Linked DNA regions of Homo sapiens: region 2 is linked to region 1. The links are contacts of gene promoters, found by promoter capture Hi-C in human tissues and cell types (Jung and others, 2019). All regions are on one chromosome and are shown on one strand. Each heading gives the region's core, a stretch centred on a gene start or on the middle of the fragment in contact. The rest is flanking DNA. Distances are from core to core; before and after follow the strand shown.

Region 1 (7,935 bases), core at 3,979-6,478:
GAGACAGAGATCTCAGAGCTCATGGGGTTCATCTTCTCTTTTTTTTCCTGATGTGGAAACTGAGTCCCAGGGAGGGGCAGTGAGCTGGCCTGGGATCACACAGAAAAGCAAGACTAGAACCAAAGTCGCTGGCCTTCCCTTCCAGACATTTCCCCTTGCACTTGCTGACCTAGACCTGGGCCCTCCAACCTGACCAAAGGCCTCAGCCCTACGCCATCAGGGGCAAGTATGCAAATGGTGATCCATGCCCACACAAGCAGAGCCCCTGGCCAGGGGCCCTCTCCCCGCATCCACACAGCCCCCTCTCTGTCAATGCCCACACACACAAACACACGCCCATACACACACCTCCAGCCATGGGGATGCCGGCCTCCCTCTGGCTCTCCTCTCCTCACGCCAGCATCCTCTCATGCCAGCTGGGAGTGAGACAGCAGGGGCCTCCTCCAGGCGCCAGGGAGGAAGAGCTGGGTTTACACACATTCTGGTGGCCCCAGAAGGCAGCCCGTGGACAGGTGGGAGAAGTGCGTGCTATGGGGGGAGATTCTGGCTCAGGCTAAAGAGAAACTTGCTGGCTGGCAATCTAAAGCATCCAACAGTGGAGTAGGCTGCCTCGGGGGGTGGTGAGTTCCCCGTCTGTGGGGGTGTTCGAGGTGAGACCGGATGACTGCTGCTCAGAGAGGCTCGGTGTGGGGGAGGCTCTTGAATCATATGGAAGAGGACAGCAGACTGCTTGACCCCTGAGGTCCTTTTCAGGTGCAGAATGTTTTTTGGAGGGTCCCCTTTCCCCCGTGAAATTCCAGGCAAGATTGGCAGACGGTGAACAGTTCCTACCTCCCCCTTCCTTCCAGCCGTGATGATCTGGCAGAAAAAAGGGAAGACCCCATGCCTTTCCACACCCAGCCACAACCTCAGCAGCAGCAAAAACAAGACAGCACAGTGGTTAGAGGCACTGGCTCTGAAGCCTGGGTTCAAATGCCAGCTCTACCCCTATCCAGCTGTGTGACCTTTGGTAAGTTACTCAGCCTCTCTGTGCTTCACTTTCTTTATGTATAAAATAGAGATAATAATAGTGTTGTCAAAATTAGAATTAACATACATAAAGCTCCTAGTACACTGCCTGGCATAGACTAACGTGTGAAAAAAAAGTGTGTCGTATTAATGATTTTTTTAAAACTTCTCATCTCGGCCTTTTACAGTTTGCAGTACCGAGTGCCTAGTGTTTCCTCTGATCCTCACCAGGGCTTGGTGAGAAAAGTAAGCAAGACAAGTATTATCACTGCCCCTTTTACAGATGAGGAAATAGATACTCAAAGGGGAGAAGGGACCCACCCAAGGTCCCACAAATCATAAATGGCAGAGCTGGGATTCAGATTTGGTTCTGTCTAATCCCTATCCCTCGTGTCCTCCTCAACTCTGCTGGTCAATTGTCCTGACTCAGAGGGCAGTAGAAGGAACAAACAGGTCTAAAGATAAGTCGGAGTCCCATGCCAGGGTGGGCTGGGCATGAGCGGCCATGTCTGCAGGTCGCCAAGCAGCTCTCTGTGTCATGGAGAGAAGCATGGAGCGGGCTGGGCCCAGGAGCTGGTAGCTCGGGGTGCACAGGATGAGGCTGCTGCCGCCTCATGGAGCTGGGGAAGCGGGTGGGCTGGGGACAGAGGTGCAATGGAATGACTTGGTGGAGTGGGGGCCGGAGGACAGGTGCATGGGAGCATGGAGGTAGGTGGTGGGAGGGATGAGCACCAAGCTTACCTATGCTGTGCACAGCTGGGGCACAGCAGCCTGGGCGGGTGCACCCCAGTGATGCAGAGGGGGACAGATGGCTTCCAGGGGCGGCCTTGTGAGTAAGCATGAGGTGCCTGGGAATGTTCCTAAAGGTATCTATGACAGGTGTGTGCGCGTGTGTGTGCGTGCAGGGAAGGTTATGATAATGACAATAAAAATAGCTACCATTTACGGGGACCTTCTATGTGTCTTACAAATACCTCAAAGTAAGGTTTACAGAGTGCTTCGCACAAGGCCAGGCACACAGTAGGTACACAATAAACATGCTTGTTACTACTATCATTGCCATCATTGTCCTCTCAGTGAGTCCTCATAACATCCCACTAGGTAGGGATGAGGATCCCATTTCACACGTGAGGAAACTGAGGCTCACTGAGGAGCACAGCGGAGTCCCACCTTCACCCTCACCCCACCATGCCAAACAGTGGTGGTGGCAGTGGGGAAGCAGCTTCGTAAATAACAAGGTGCCACACACATCCTTGAAAGTGTGCACCAGACTATTTGTTGAATGAGTCTCCGAGAGCCCACAGGCCCATCAGTGTGGAAGGGGCAGGGGCGAGGGAGCTGCACCAACAGATGGAGCAGCAAGGTGGGTGGCGTGTGAGGACACACAATCGGGGCATCCCCGTGGGGGCTGGGCTTGGGAGCTGCGAATGAAAGGACAGTGTCTCCAGTGCACAGGCAGGTGTAGGGGCCCTTGTGCCTGAGGATTAATGCGGGGGGTGGGGCCACTTAGAAATGGGAAGGCTCCCAGGGAAACCAGGTGTAGGTGGGGGCTGGACTCCACTGGGAAGGGTCGTGGTTGTGGCCAGGAGGGGTAGGAGGCCCTGCGCCGAAGGTACAAAGATAAGTGAGTGAGAGAGAGAGAAAGTAGAAGAGAGGTTTAGGGGGTGAGCCACAGCATTAAGTGTGTTAGCAAACATGTGCTGGTGTGCACACACACGTGCACACACACAAAGGCCTGGGGCAAGGTGTTCAGCACCCAGACAGACATGCACATGGTACTTCAGGATGAGCTTGCTGGGGGGCAGGGACTGGTGTGTCTGGGAGGGTGTGCCCACATGCTGTGTAGACCTGGGAGGGATGGGGTGTCTGGAAGGAGAGGGTGTGTTGCAAGGACTGAAGGTGTATGAGGAAGAAGCACAGGTGTGCCTGCGATGGCTGTGAGCCTGGGGAGGTGAGTGGTTGGATGGGGGCTGTGTGCATCCAAGGGTGAGGGCTGGCAGTGCTGCGCTGGGGGCTCTGGGGGCACGTAGTGGCCGTGTGTGTGTTGTGTACATGGCAGCAAGGCACCTGGGGGAGGTCTCAAGGAGGCAGGCATGAGGTGGCAGCCTCTCTGGGTGGGGAGTGTGGGCTGTATGCTGCCAGGAGGTGTATTGTGTACGCAGGTGTGTGTGCCTGTGTAGGTGTGTGTCTGGGTGGGTGCCACCGAGCGCGTGTATCATTGTCAGAGTGTCTGTGTCACTGGCAAGGGTAAGCGGGAGGGAGCAGCTGGACCTGGGTAGTGACTGAGCCTGGAAGGAAAGAGGGGTCCCCACCAGCCACTCGCGCACCCAGCCCCTCCTCTCAGAACTCCAATGTCATATGGATTCAGCCCAGGCCTGGGCTGGAAAGAACTGCCCGGCAGCCGTGGCTGGTTGGTCCATCCCGCCCACCCCTGTGGATCTGAGGATAGGATGGGTCTGAGAACACTTCCTCTAGCATGAATGAAGAGCCCCCAGCCAGACCCTTCTCCCCTGTCTCCCAAAAGATCCAGCCACACCTCAGATGCCAGCATCCCTAGAGCCATCCCTGGAAGCAAGAGGAGGTAGGGACTGAGGGGCTGAAGCACCCACAAAACAGAAGGCCTCACAGTTAGCAGACTGCAGACCTCCCTCCCCTTCTCCTTCCCTCTCCCTTCTTTCTTTCTCCTTCTCTGGCAGAAGACAGAGAAAGTAAGACCCTAATGTCCACCCTCCTCCAAAAGGAACACCCAGACACTGGGAAGGTAGACAACAGGGAAGGATAAGAATGAATGGAAGAGGAGAGACGCCCACCCGCCAACACATGAAAAAACAGGGCTATCTGGAAGCCCCCAGGGCAGCCAAGGGACTGGGGACCCAAGACCCACCCCCTAAAAATCTATTTCATTATTCCAGGTGGACAGCCTCCTCCTTCACCTCCAGACACCAAGAAAAAGCCCCTCCCAGCCCTTGCTAGCTCAATGAGGCATCGAATGCCCTCTCCCAAGATTCAGGAGGGGGGTGAGAGTAAAGGAGACAACAGCACCCCAAAGCCAATTGTGCCCCAAAAGCCCATCAAGGGTTCAAGGGCTCATACCCCAACCCAAAGACCCCAGGGAAGATTGCTGCTTCAGCTGGGGGAGGAGGCTGGGACATGAGAAATGGTCCCTTCCTCTTTAGGGGTGGGGGAGCAAGCCAAGGGCCCTGCAGCTTCCTCTCCCCCTGCAGCACTCTCTGACCAGAACCCTGTCACCGCCCCCAGCGCATTCCCACCCCAGCAAAGCCCCCTCCTACTGATTTCCCAGTCTCCCTGTCTCATCACCCCCAGCCTTCCCCCGCAAGCTTCCGCTCCTCTCCCTCAGACCCCATCTTTCCCAGCTCTCCACCAGCACAGACCCATCTCTGCCTGGAGCACCTTGGCACATTCCCCTCTGCTCTCTCCCAATAACCTCTTCTCCCCTTGGCTCCCATCCCCCAGGAAAGCCTGGTCCTCAGTGGGTCCCCTCAGGACGAAGCCCTTGGCCTGGCCCCTTTCCTTCCCTCTCCACTTCTCTCTCTTCTCCAGCCCCCTCTCCTCTCCTCCCACGAAGCCCAGTTTCTCGCTGGTTAGACCCTCCAGAACACAACAGCTCCTCTGGCCCGGCGCTGCTTCAAGCCTCTGGGGCTAGCACAGACTGGGGACCCCCCTTTAAGAACCCCCTCTAAGTCCTCTGGATGCCCCTCCTCTCTCCATCCCTTCCCCCAAAGACCCTTCCTCCCACCCCTCCCCATTCTCCTCAGCTCTCAGGGCCAGTGCCCCTTCCACAGGAGCCTCCGACCCCCAAGCCCCCAGCGGCTTTGCCTCCTCGCTGTCACCGGGCCAGCCCTCTCAGCGCGGCGCCCCCGCCCCCCAATTCATCCGTCCTGCCTCCCTCGCCCCCTCCGATCCGCTCCCCTCCCCCGATCGGCTCCCGCCCCCCGCCCGTCTCCGCCGCAGCGCCCCCCCCCCCCCATTTTACCTGGTTCTCGGGGCGCCAGAAGCTGGAGGGTGGGTAGCAGAGCTACAGGGCCGCCCCGTCTCCGACGGGTGGCAGAGCCAGGGCTAGCGGTGTCTGCCGCCTCGCGCCTCTCTCCCTCCCCGCCGCGTCCCCGCCCGCCCGCCCGCCCCGCCGCGGTGCCTCTCCGAGGAGGATGCTCCGCGAGTCAGGGCGGCTGCTCCCGCCGCCGCATCCCTGCAACACCGACTGACGGCAGCATCAGCACCAGTGCCCGCCCCCGAGACGCGCGCATTGGACCACGCTGCGCTGACGGGCGAGCAGCGCAGCCAATGCAAGGGCTCAGAAGCCGCCAGTCCAGCGGCTCCACAGGCCCACTCCCTCCCTCGCGCGGGACCCAGGCGTCCCGGCCCCAGCACCCGCGCTCCTCCCAGCCTCTCGAGGTTCTCGGGCGCCCGGGCCCCCAACCAGGCGGGCCCCAAACCCGGCCTCAGTGTCTTTTCCGGGAACCCAAGCACTCTCGCCCCTCGCCCCTCGCCCCTTAGTTCGGGGCCTTGGGTCCCGCACCCTCCCCCCACGGCCAGCAGGTCTTCGCGCAGCGCGGGGCTGGGACAAGCCGAAGGAGAGGCTGTGGACCCCGACTTGGGACGCCGCGAGAGCAGGGCTGATGCGGGGCCTGGGCCGCAGCGCCCTCTGCTGGCTACCCCCAGGGGCGGGCCCGGGCTTCGAGGAGCCTAGAGAAGGGGGACTCGGTGGGTCCATGGCTGCTGGGGGCTTTTTCCAGTCGGTAGCCTGGCCCCCACCTCCCACCGTCCGGAGGGCCCCTGGCTTGGAGCCCCCAGAACTGAAGAGGAAGGGGCTTTGCTGGGATAAAGACGGAGGCGGTGGGGGAAGGAAAGGCAGAGATGGGGGCGGGGTAGACCTAGGAACTTGGGGGTTTCCCAGTCCTGCCTCATGGGAATCCCAGAGTTTGAGGCCAAACTCTCAGTTCTGCCTGGAACCCTGGACCGAGGTACGAGTAGGTGTGGGGGCAGGGTTGCGCCTGCACATGCCTGGTGACTGAGGGCACCTGGCAGCAGCCCCCTTCTCTGTTCTCCTCCTCCCATCCATGAGTTTCAGTTAGAGTGGTGCTGGGGGGCGCAGGTCTCTCCTGTAAGGGTACATGCATCACTGTGCATGTGTATGAGTGTGGGGGACTGGGGGACACCCTTCACTCACTCCGCCAATAAAAGTGTACACACACTGGCACTTAGTGTGTATACCCCGAGGTTGGTCACTGGGCTGCTGAATGAGACAGTGAGAGACAGAGTGTGTGTGTGTATGTGTGCCAGACCATTCTGCCAGCTCACTCCAGGACCCTGGTTTCTGTTGCAGGGTCTGTGATCTGCACAGCTGGTGGTAGTTGGCACTTCCTTAGCCAGAGGCAACATGCAAGAACACTTACATTCAACCACCAATGCATGGACATTGGGGCACTCACAGCCATGCACACATATCTGTGAACACTGGGCATTCCCAGAGACACATAAGAACACCTGCAGAAATGCCCCACCATGGTAACACACCCACAGGAAGCATATACTGCCCAAGAACACACACACTTGTGCACACAGGTACCTACACCAGGCAATTAATGCATGCCCAGAACAGCTGCACCCAGGGGACCTGCCCACAGTCATCCTGGACCCCTGCCCAGGCACTTCAAAGAGAGTGGTCAATTACTGAGTGGCTTAATGCGGACACCAACCCCCCGGGTGGGAAACTCCTTCCCCAGCCTGTGAAGGGGTAAGAGGGGGACCCAGGCTGCAAGGAGTTTTTCCTAGGAGTCGAGAAGGGTGATCCCTAAGCCAGGTCCCAGACTTAGGGCCCACTCTGACCTTGGAGAGACCCCCAGGGCATCCCCACCAAAGCCAATGAAGGAGCCAGAGAATGGAACTGCTGCGTCAGGGCCTATGAATGCGAAATCGCCTCCCTGACCCCACAGCCCACTTTCCTGCCCATCCCCCACTGTTCCTCTTCCTGCAGCCTCCTCACACTCACACACACACACACACACACACACACCCCTTGTCCATCCAGGCATCAGGGCATAGACAGACAGATGCAATGGCTCACAGAGACAGACTCAGACCCTTACAGAGGAGCCTGGGCAGGGAGGGAGGTAAGTATGAGCACTTGTCTCCTTTCCCTACCCCCAGCTTTGCCCATCAAGGGCAGAAAAGGTCACCGGGCAGCTGCTGCATCTCCCTGTCCCTCCCACCTACAGGGACATCTCTCCTCTCTGCAAGGTCCAAGGTTCAGATTGCCTAAGCATTTGGGACCTGCCACTTCAAGACACACCCCACACACACACACACCACACACAGGTACCCACCCAATGTGGACAGTTGAGTGATATGCTGAGCACATGCCCTTCTCCCATGTGCAAAGGCCAGTGGGGACACATGGGGGAGGGGAAACACAGCAGATACAGCATGCATGTCCATGCACACACATGCACACAGGCGCATACAATGTGAAGCTCAGACACCAAATTCAGACACATGCAACCATGAAGACCGCTACTTGTCACATCCCGGGCAGGCAGACCTGGACACACATATGCATGCATGCATACACACACACACACACACACACACACACACACACACACACACCAGGAAGAGGCCAGACTGGAACTGGAGGGTAGTGACGAGAGGAGCCAAGAGGAACCGACTGGGCTGCAGGGATGGAGGCAGCACAGGAGGCAGGCGGCACAGGAGCGAGCTGCTCTTCACAACACAATCGCCGTCTGTTGTTATAGCAACTCAGCCCCCAAATCGTGAAACGGATATTACAGCCTCAAGAGGGGGAAGGGCGGAGGGGGCTGAGGACAGAAGGAGGGGCAGGGGGGCACCCGATGCAGAGACAGGGCTGGGGGGCCCAACACAGGGTAGGCCTGCAGGAGAGATATGACC
Region 2 (7,935 bases), core at 5,436-7,935, 560 kb after region 1:
GCTCAGGTGATCCTCCCACCTTGACCTCCCAGAGTGCTGGGATTACAGGCATGAGCCACCACCCCTGGCCTAGAAAAATATTAAAATACCATTAAGGAATATTCAAAACTGGTTATTATATCAGGGTAGTAGAATAAGGGATTTTTTTTTTAATCTATTTTCCATTGCAGCTGGTTTTGATGGTTTTGAATCTGTTCTCTGGCATTCTGTCCTGCAGTTGCCACCAGCTGACCACTCTGCAATATAACTTCTTAAACTTGCAGCCAGGAGGAGCCCTAGGGCAGGGAAAGCTGCAGACTAGCTGGCTTCCTGGCTGCTATCCAGGCAAGGATTTTGTTTTCTCTATTACAGTCGATTATCCTAGACTTTAGGGAGCAATAGGTCTCTGGACTGTAGGTTTCAGCCTCCGTTCTGGGCTTATCTTTGGATTCTTGTTGATGAGTCAAAAAAAAAAAAAAAAAAAAGGAGTGACCATCAGATGTTTGCTAACTCTTCAAGTATGAGCTCAACCTTGTTATCTGCCTGGAGTCATTTCCTTTGAAAATGTATGGTAGACTTTGCCAAAGTAAGTAGTAATGTCCCATTCCTTCTCAGGAAAATGTGTACACATAGATCAAAACTATGCATTGTAAAACTCATATCTGTTTGAAAACATAGAGGTAGGGACAGAAAGTAAACATATGAAGGATTTGACAGGACACATTACCAGCCTGGTGGTCCTTTTTGGAAAATGTTTGCTTTCTCGTAATTGCCTTCAAAATAGGGACAGTGTCCTGAATGTTGGTTACAGTTGTTGAAGATTTCTTTTTGAGATTATGCTTGGATGATGGGGCCTTAAGAAGAGAACCCACCCAGTCCTATTTTGTGCCTTCGTTTGGACATGTTCTCCCTTTTCTTCCAAGGTACTATACACTTAATTAGTATTGGGTCTAGTAGGACTGAGATTTTGTTTTCCTTTTTTTTCCCTAGGGTTCTCAGAAGCGAGCTATCTCTACCCCAGAAACCCCCCTAACAAAAAGGAGTGTGTCAACTCGTAGCCCCCATCAGCTACTCTCACCGTCAAGTTTCTCTCCAAGGTATGGATCATAATTCATTCAAGTGCCATAAAGCTGGCCTCCCCTCCCCTTTCTCTGGCTATCTGAGGAAGGCTAACAGCAGAGTTATTAATTAACTATAGGTGGGCATGTACCTCTGCAGTGAATTGGCTTGAAAGCCTATTGCTCTCTGCCTTCCTTGCTCTCCTTTTCTTTGTGGAAAATTACTGTTTCTTACGGTAATTAAGGAAACTCACTTTCCACCCACTTTTCTAGGGCTCATTTCCTAGATCGGGAACTGATATCTTGTATTGAAAACAACCTGTCTATTCAGAAGTCTAAGAGTCTTAACAGGTCTTGTCAGTAGAGGCAAGTAGGTTTCCACCTGCTTCTGTTTGTGTTTTGTTGGGTTTCTTTTTCTTTCTTTTCATCTAAAGTTTTTTTTTTTAAAGAAAAGCACATATCTTTGTTCATAATGTTTCATAACCTGTTTATTGTTTCCAAGTCAGGTTAGAACTAGTTTCTGAGAGTTTTCTTGTCACTGTGACTCTGCCCTGACTTAATTGGTATTTTGTCCCTCTGCCACCATTGCACATAAATCCACAAAGATCATATGTAATTTTTTGAAATCCATAAATGACACGTCTCATATTAGAGAATTCCATAGGCAAGTGCTCTGCTGAGTAGATGGGTTTTTAGGAGTTTCCACATCAAGATGAGGCTCCGGAGCAGTAGTATTAACCCTTCAGGGAAACACCAACTGCCAGGAGTCATTACCTCTACTTTGGATCACTTCTAGATGAACCAGAGCTTAAGATTGTTCAACTCTATCACTTTTTTTTTTTTTTTTTTTGAGATGGACTCTCACTCTGTCACCCAGGCTGGAGTGCAGTGGCACCATCTTGGCTTACTGAAGCCTCTGCCTCCCGGTTCAAGCGATTCTCCTGCCTCAGCTTCCCGAGTAGCTGGGTCTACAGGCGCTCGCCACCATGCCTGGCTAATTTTTGTATTTTTAGTAGAGACGAGGTTTCGCCTGTTGGCCAGGCTGATCTTGCACTCCTGACCTCAGGTGATCCACCCGCCTTGGCCTCCCAAAGTGTAGGATGTCAAGCATGTGCCACTGCTCTCGGCCTTTTCAGCTCTATCACTTTAGAAAGGTGGTGATAGAAGCTCTGCAGTCATTCAAGGTGAGTGGTCATTGGATTTTTTTTTTCTTTTCTTTCTTTTTTTTTTTTTTTTAAGATAGGCTTTTACTCTGTTGCCCAGGCTGGAGTGCAGTGGCACAACTATAGCTCACTGTAGCCTTGGCCTTCCAGGCTCAGGTGATCCTCCTACCTCAGCCTCCTGAGTAGCTGGGACTACAGGTGTATGCTACCAAGCCCAGCTAATTTTTATAATTTTTGTAGAGATGGGGTTTTACCATGTTGCTCAAGCTGGTCTCGAACTCCTGGCCTCAAGCAATCTGCCTGCCTTAGCCTCCCAAAGTACTGGGATTACAGGCATGAGCCAGCATGCCTGGCAGTAATTGGATTTTGAAGGACAGTTTTACTTTAGGGTAGTCTACTGCTGCTTTGGGGAGTTCTCAGGCTTTTTGGAAGAAAGCTTTCTAGACTTAAGAGCATCTTTGCAACCTGGTATGTAGGGATGGTTCTTATAGACGTGCCAGCACCATTGCAGGAGTTATATTCTCCAAATGTCAATACAATGCTCTGAAACCTGTAGATCTGTTTACAACTGTCCTCATGTGAGCATCTTGCTGCATTAAAGGGCCTGCTGTAATGGATGGCTCATGGAGCTTCCCAGGGAAGAGCTTGGAGAAGCTGGCAAAATGCTGCCTAGTCATTTTTTAATGCACACTAATAAAGCTGACAGCAGAAACTGGTTTTGTAATGTATGAAAGTAACTTCTAAACTATTCACGTAGAGGTGGCACTGGAGATTGAGATAATTAATTGAGCTCATTTTCTGTAGGCTGTGAAAAGAAAGAATGATGGCATTAATTGCGATGGTGCCCCACATAAAACTGGTTCCCGCAGAGTTTCAGTGCATTAAACAAAGCCTGTTTTAAATAGACCTCTCTGTACGGCGTGTTTACAACCAGAGGATTAGAAGACCTCACTGTCATCTAAGCAGATCAGCAATATCCATGTGTTCTTAGAGGTATAATTTACCAGTCAGGGAGTGGAAATGTGAGAACTTGGCAGTTGAGCCTAGAAAAATGGGAATGTTTGCACATCACCAGACTGTTAATTCATTACTTACCCACCTCCATAGACACTGGGGAAAATTGATTAATTTGAATTTCATTTTATTGTTGTTTCTACCTTGAACCATATTGTGAGTTTTTATATATGCTCAGCAAGTTTTAGCTTATCCACAGTTGCAGGCTCAGATGATGTTCCAATAAATGCTAAAAATTCATGAGAAGAAAAAAATGGGACTTAAAGTTTGCCTTTTAATCAATTCAGAATCTGGGGATCTTTTTGCCTTGCTTAGTTTTAATGCCAAGAGAACGACAACTTTTTAAAATACGTTTCTGTCTCTAAACTTCTCTAAAAATGTTTGGTATTCCTCAGCCTGGTATTCCTCAGCCCTTCATTCCTGAAATTCCTTAAAGGTCTGGGTATGTCCAACCCCATTAAACTGATTCAATTTATAAACTATGAGGCCACCTTCCTTTTCTCCAGTCCCCATTTCCAAAGGTAACCTCATTTTATTCTTCTCTCCCTTTAGATATGAACACAGTAATATTAACCTGTTTTGCTTCCAATTAGTGCTACTCCCTCCCAGAAATACAACTCACGAAGTAACCGAGGAGAAGTGGTTACCTCCTTCGGCTTAGCACAGGGAGTATCTTGGTCTGGGAGAGGAGGAGCTGGAAACATCAGCCTGAAGGTCTTGGGATGTCCAGAGGCACTAACTGGGAGCTACAAATCCATGTTTCAGAAGCTCCCAGACATTCGAGAAGGTGATTGTTTTTCCCTTTGAAATTCTGGTGGATATAAAACCACCTAGAAGGGTGTAGAGTAACAAAGCTTCAGCTAGGCTGGTAGAACAAGTTCCAAGGTTGCCTTTCAATGTATGAGTTGGTAGATGTCCTCATGGAAGCCCTAGTAATGGAGGGACACGGGCAATACTATCAGTGATTGCCCCAAGTCACTTCACTTTGCTAAAACGCACATAACCATTCCCAGCAGCAAAAACTTGAACGATGTAAAGGAATTCAACTTAAAGATATTCATGGTTCCTTCGTTAGAAGCCTTCTTCAGGTTGGCCTTGACTTGCCTAAAACCTCAGTGAGGACTTGAGTAAAGGGCAGACTTGGAGATGGGGTGGGGTTCATGCTGATTCCCTGGAATTGTGCTATGGGGTCTCCTGTGGCCAGATGGAAGGCCAGATTCAGCAACCAAATATCGGAAAATTGGCAAAGGTTTTAGAAGGTTTAAACTGGCCAGATGTCCAGGCACCCTTCCTGCTTCTGTAAAATGACTGACTTTAATATTTTACAATGTGCTGTATTTTCTCTTCTTGGCAAGTGAAATGTCTTAAACATAATACTTTTTTCCACTTCTGGGATTGTAGTTCTGACCTGTAAGATAGAAGAACTTGGCAGCGAACTCAAGGAACATTACAAGATTGAAGCTTTCACTCCTTTGCTAGCCCCAGCACAGGTAAGAGTTGTTCTAATAGTTCTCACTAATTAATATTACGTTTTTAAATCGATGACCAAGAGGCATCCTTCTTGCTTCCTTTTTCACTTCTTGTCTGTGTTCTAGTTTGAACATCTGTCTTGGTTGAATTTGGGAAAATGGGCCCTTCTGAAGAAAGATTTGTAAGTGCTGTCTGGTTTTGTGGCCAGAGAGTGATTTTCTTCCCACTTGGATTAGAGTCTTGCACATAAGCAGAGACTCAAGGCCTTGTTTCCCTTGGTGGTGAGTCAGGTAGCTCCCCGGGGATTTCCCACAAATAGAAGCATTCACGTATCGAGATAAAAGGACAGCAGCGACGGTGGGGTTTTCAGAATCTTGTTCTCTGGACAATGACTCACAGTCTCTCCCCTGGTTTGGTCTCTTGTTATAGACAAACTGCTGCCAATAGTATCTTTATATCATAGTTTAATCTGGCATATATACCAGTGCTTTCTCTCTAGAATGTTTTCTAATCTAAGGGGAAATATATTCTAGAAGTTTCTTTAAAGTACCTTTGTCAATGTTTACATTCAAAGAATGATCAGTTGGGGAAGTGATGCAGAACTGTGTCATAGAAGGAAGTGTTAGAGGACTTGGAAGGAAGTAATTGAGGGAAGGCAGGGAGGCACAATCACTGGGAAAGATGAGACTTCCTCTGTTTTCTCCCAAGAGTGGGAACAGAACAGAGGAAGCCATGGAGACAGAGATTTTAGCTCAATTAATAAAGAACTTCCTGTTAAGAGGTTGTATGGTATGTGGCTAAGGATATGGCTCTAGAGCCAAATTTCTGGTTTCAAACCCAAGCTTCACCCACAGTTTGACCTTGACTAAATTATCTAACCTTTCTGTTGCTTGTTTTCCTCATCTGTAAAATGGATACAGTAATATCCACCCGATGGTTGTTGCAAGGATTAAATGAGTTAATACATATAAAATGCCTAAGAATACATTTTAGAACAGTGCATGGTATTTAGTAAGCTCAAGAAATGTTAGCTATTATTAAGTAGTTATAGCTGCCCAAAGATGCAGTGGGCTGCCCTGGGGTGGTGAGGACAGGGTGGGGTAGGCATCCAGGGGCAAGTTCCCCTACACTAGAGATGCTCACACTTAGGCAGCCTCCTAGGAAGGCTCAAGTGCTGGGTGGATGGGTGGACAAGATGCCCTTTCAGAGTTCTTCCATCCTGAGAGTCAGTGATGACGCGGTAGTCACCTCAGGGTCAAAGCAATGCCCTGCCAAGAAATGTATTTGTTGTTTGCAGTTTGTTTTGCTATTCACCCTATCGACTTCAGATTTTGAGCTCCTGCTCCAAAGACTGTCATTCTTATGCTGTGACCTTCCTTTGGTAGGAGCCTGTCACTCTGCTGGGCCAGATTGGCTGTGATAGCAACGGGAAGCTGAACAACAAGTCAGTGATTCTCGAGGGAGACCGGGAACATTCCTCGGGTGCTCAAATTCCAGTGGATTTATCTGAGCTTAAGGAATATTCTCTGTTTCCTGGACAGGTGAGATTGGAGGAGTTCCACCAGAATGCAGGCGCACTCTTTACCCCTGTAGTGTAGGTGCTGTGCCATGCGCAGCTGCTCCTCAGTTCCTGTCTCTGCTGCCATGGGGTGCAGCTGGAGCACATGCCCCAGAGCAGACACCACTGTTGGGATTCCTGTTTCCCCCATGCTCTGACCCAGGCTCTGGGACCTGACTGCGCAGCCTCAAATCCCAACTCCCCGCTCCATGAGGTGCATGACTGTGCACAAGGTACTTAACCATCTAAACTACAGTTTCTTCACTCACAAAATGGAAATAATAATTCTTACCTCATAGGATTGTTGTGAAAATTAGATCACTTATATAGAGCATAATTATTATTACTAATGCAACGCCCTTAATTCGTTTTCTACAAAAATGCCCTAAGTTTATGATTACAGAATGAGAGTAGTTGGACAATGCTTTTAACTGCCTCAAAATAATGTATTCCAGACCTCATTGATCTCCACTGCTTAGCAATCCTGTTTGTTTTTGTCTTTCAGGTTGTAATTATGGAAGGAATCAACACCACTGGTAGGAAACTTGTTGCCACCAAACTCTACGAGGTACACAGCAGTACCCCCACTTGCCTCTTGGTTTGCTTCAGACAAAGTATGTCTGGAAGCTGTCTGTTCTAGAAACTGGTCCTTTTTAGGAGCCCATTTATTTGTTAGTCAGTTCTCCATCTGTAAGTGGGAACCCACCCCTAGGCCAGGGGTCAGCAAACCCTTTCTATAAAGGGCCAGACAGTAACTCTTTTAGACTTTGTAGCTATATGGTCTCTGTCACAATGACTCAATTCTGCCTTTGTCTACAAAAGCAGCCATAGAGGACTCTTAAACAGATGACTGTGGCTGTGTTCCCATAAAACTTTATTTAAATAGTGGGCTGCAGCCAAATTTGGCCCAGAGGCCGAAAGGTTACCTATCCCTGCTCTAGGCAACAATCCTCCAGAGATTTTCGTAGAATGCCAGGAAAAGTAGCAAGAAACCATTCTCTCCCATCCTTGCCTAGAAGTACACTGATACTTTAGGCACCTGTTTTGCTCCCACTTGTTGCTGGGTATTTTATGACAATTGAGTAGTGACCTCCCATTACCTGGGTTTCTTTGCCCTCTGAGCAGTATAGAAAAATGGCAGGTCCCATCAGATCCAGGGAGCAAGACAGAGGCACATCCTTCCCCTGCCCTCTCGCTCCTCCCCACTGTCCTCCCATCACACACCTGCACCACCCCCAACCTGGTGCCCTCCCCTTTCCTTACCAAGGTGATGCCTGGCGCAAGACCTTACTTGAGCTTTTCCCCTGTTTTTAGGGTGTGCCACTTCCATTTTATCAGCCCACTGAAGAGGATGCAGGTGAGTTTCGGTTCAAATATTGTTTTGCCAACAATGAGGATGGTAGACATGAGTCCAGGAGTGCAGTTTCCCAAGCCCAAGAAAGCTGCAGAAGCTGCTGAAGAGCAATGTGACCAAGCAGTGAGGGCGCCACCATCATGAGTTCGTAGGTTTTTTGTCACAAGACCCCTGGTCTGAGCCCAGTGAGCGTTGGTCGTGCTGTCGCCTGAGTTCTGCCTACATGAAGCATGTTGTTTAAAGACTAATGTTTAACAGGTATTTTTGAAGGTTGCCTTGGAAAGGAAAAGATGTACGATTTCAAAAAGAATTTATTTACATGCAGCATGGGCAGATGCG

The links. Contacts are between HindIII fragments. The study calls those that stand out against the background at their distance.
Region 2: a contact is called between a fragment that was not itself captured here and the fragment with the promoter of NRXN2 in region 1, in 4 of the 25 tissues and cell types used here (dorsolateral prefrontal cortex, lymphoblastoid cells, pancreas and 1 more).

What each region holds. Positions count from the first base shown.
Region 1 is chr11:64,717,969-64,725,903 of GRCh38, forward strand. It overlaps NRXN2 (neurexin 2), which reads right to left and starts at 5,229. Exons shown (of 23, transcript NM_015080.4): 1 at 5,003-5,229. RefSeq lists silencers at 5,109-5,403, 5,390-5,689 and enhancers at 6,070-6,119, 7,329-7,935. The HindIII fragment of the contact is 11,757 bases long and covers 3,046-7,935 here.
Region 2 is chr11:65,274,923-65,282,857 of GRCh38, forward strand. It overlaps POLA2 (DNA polymerase alpha 2, accessory subunit), which reads left to right. Exons shown (of 18, transcript NM_002689.4): 5 at 970-1,076; 6 at 3,808-4,001; 7 at 4,616-4,704; 8 at 6,070-6,225; 9 at 6,748-6,810; 10 at 7,557-7,599. Among named protein-coding and RNA genes, the nearest start is that of POLA2, 17 kb to the left of the region's middle. RefSeq lists an enhancer at 4,348-5,547. The HindIII fragment of the contact is 6,666 bases long and covers 3,353-7,935 here.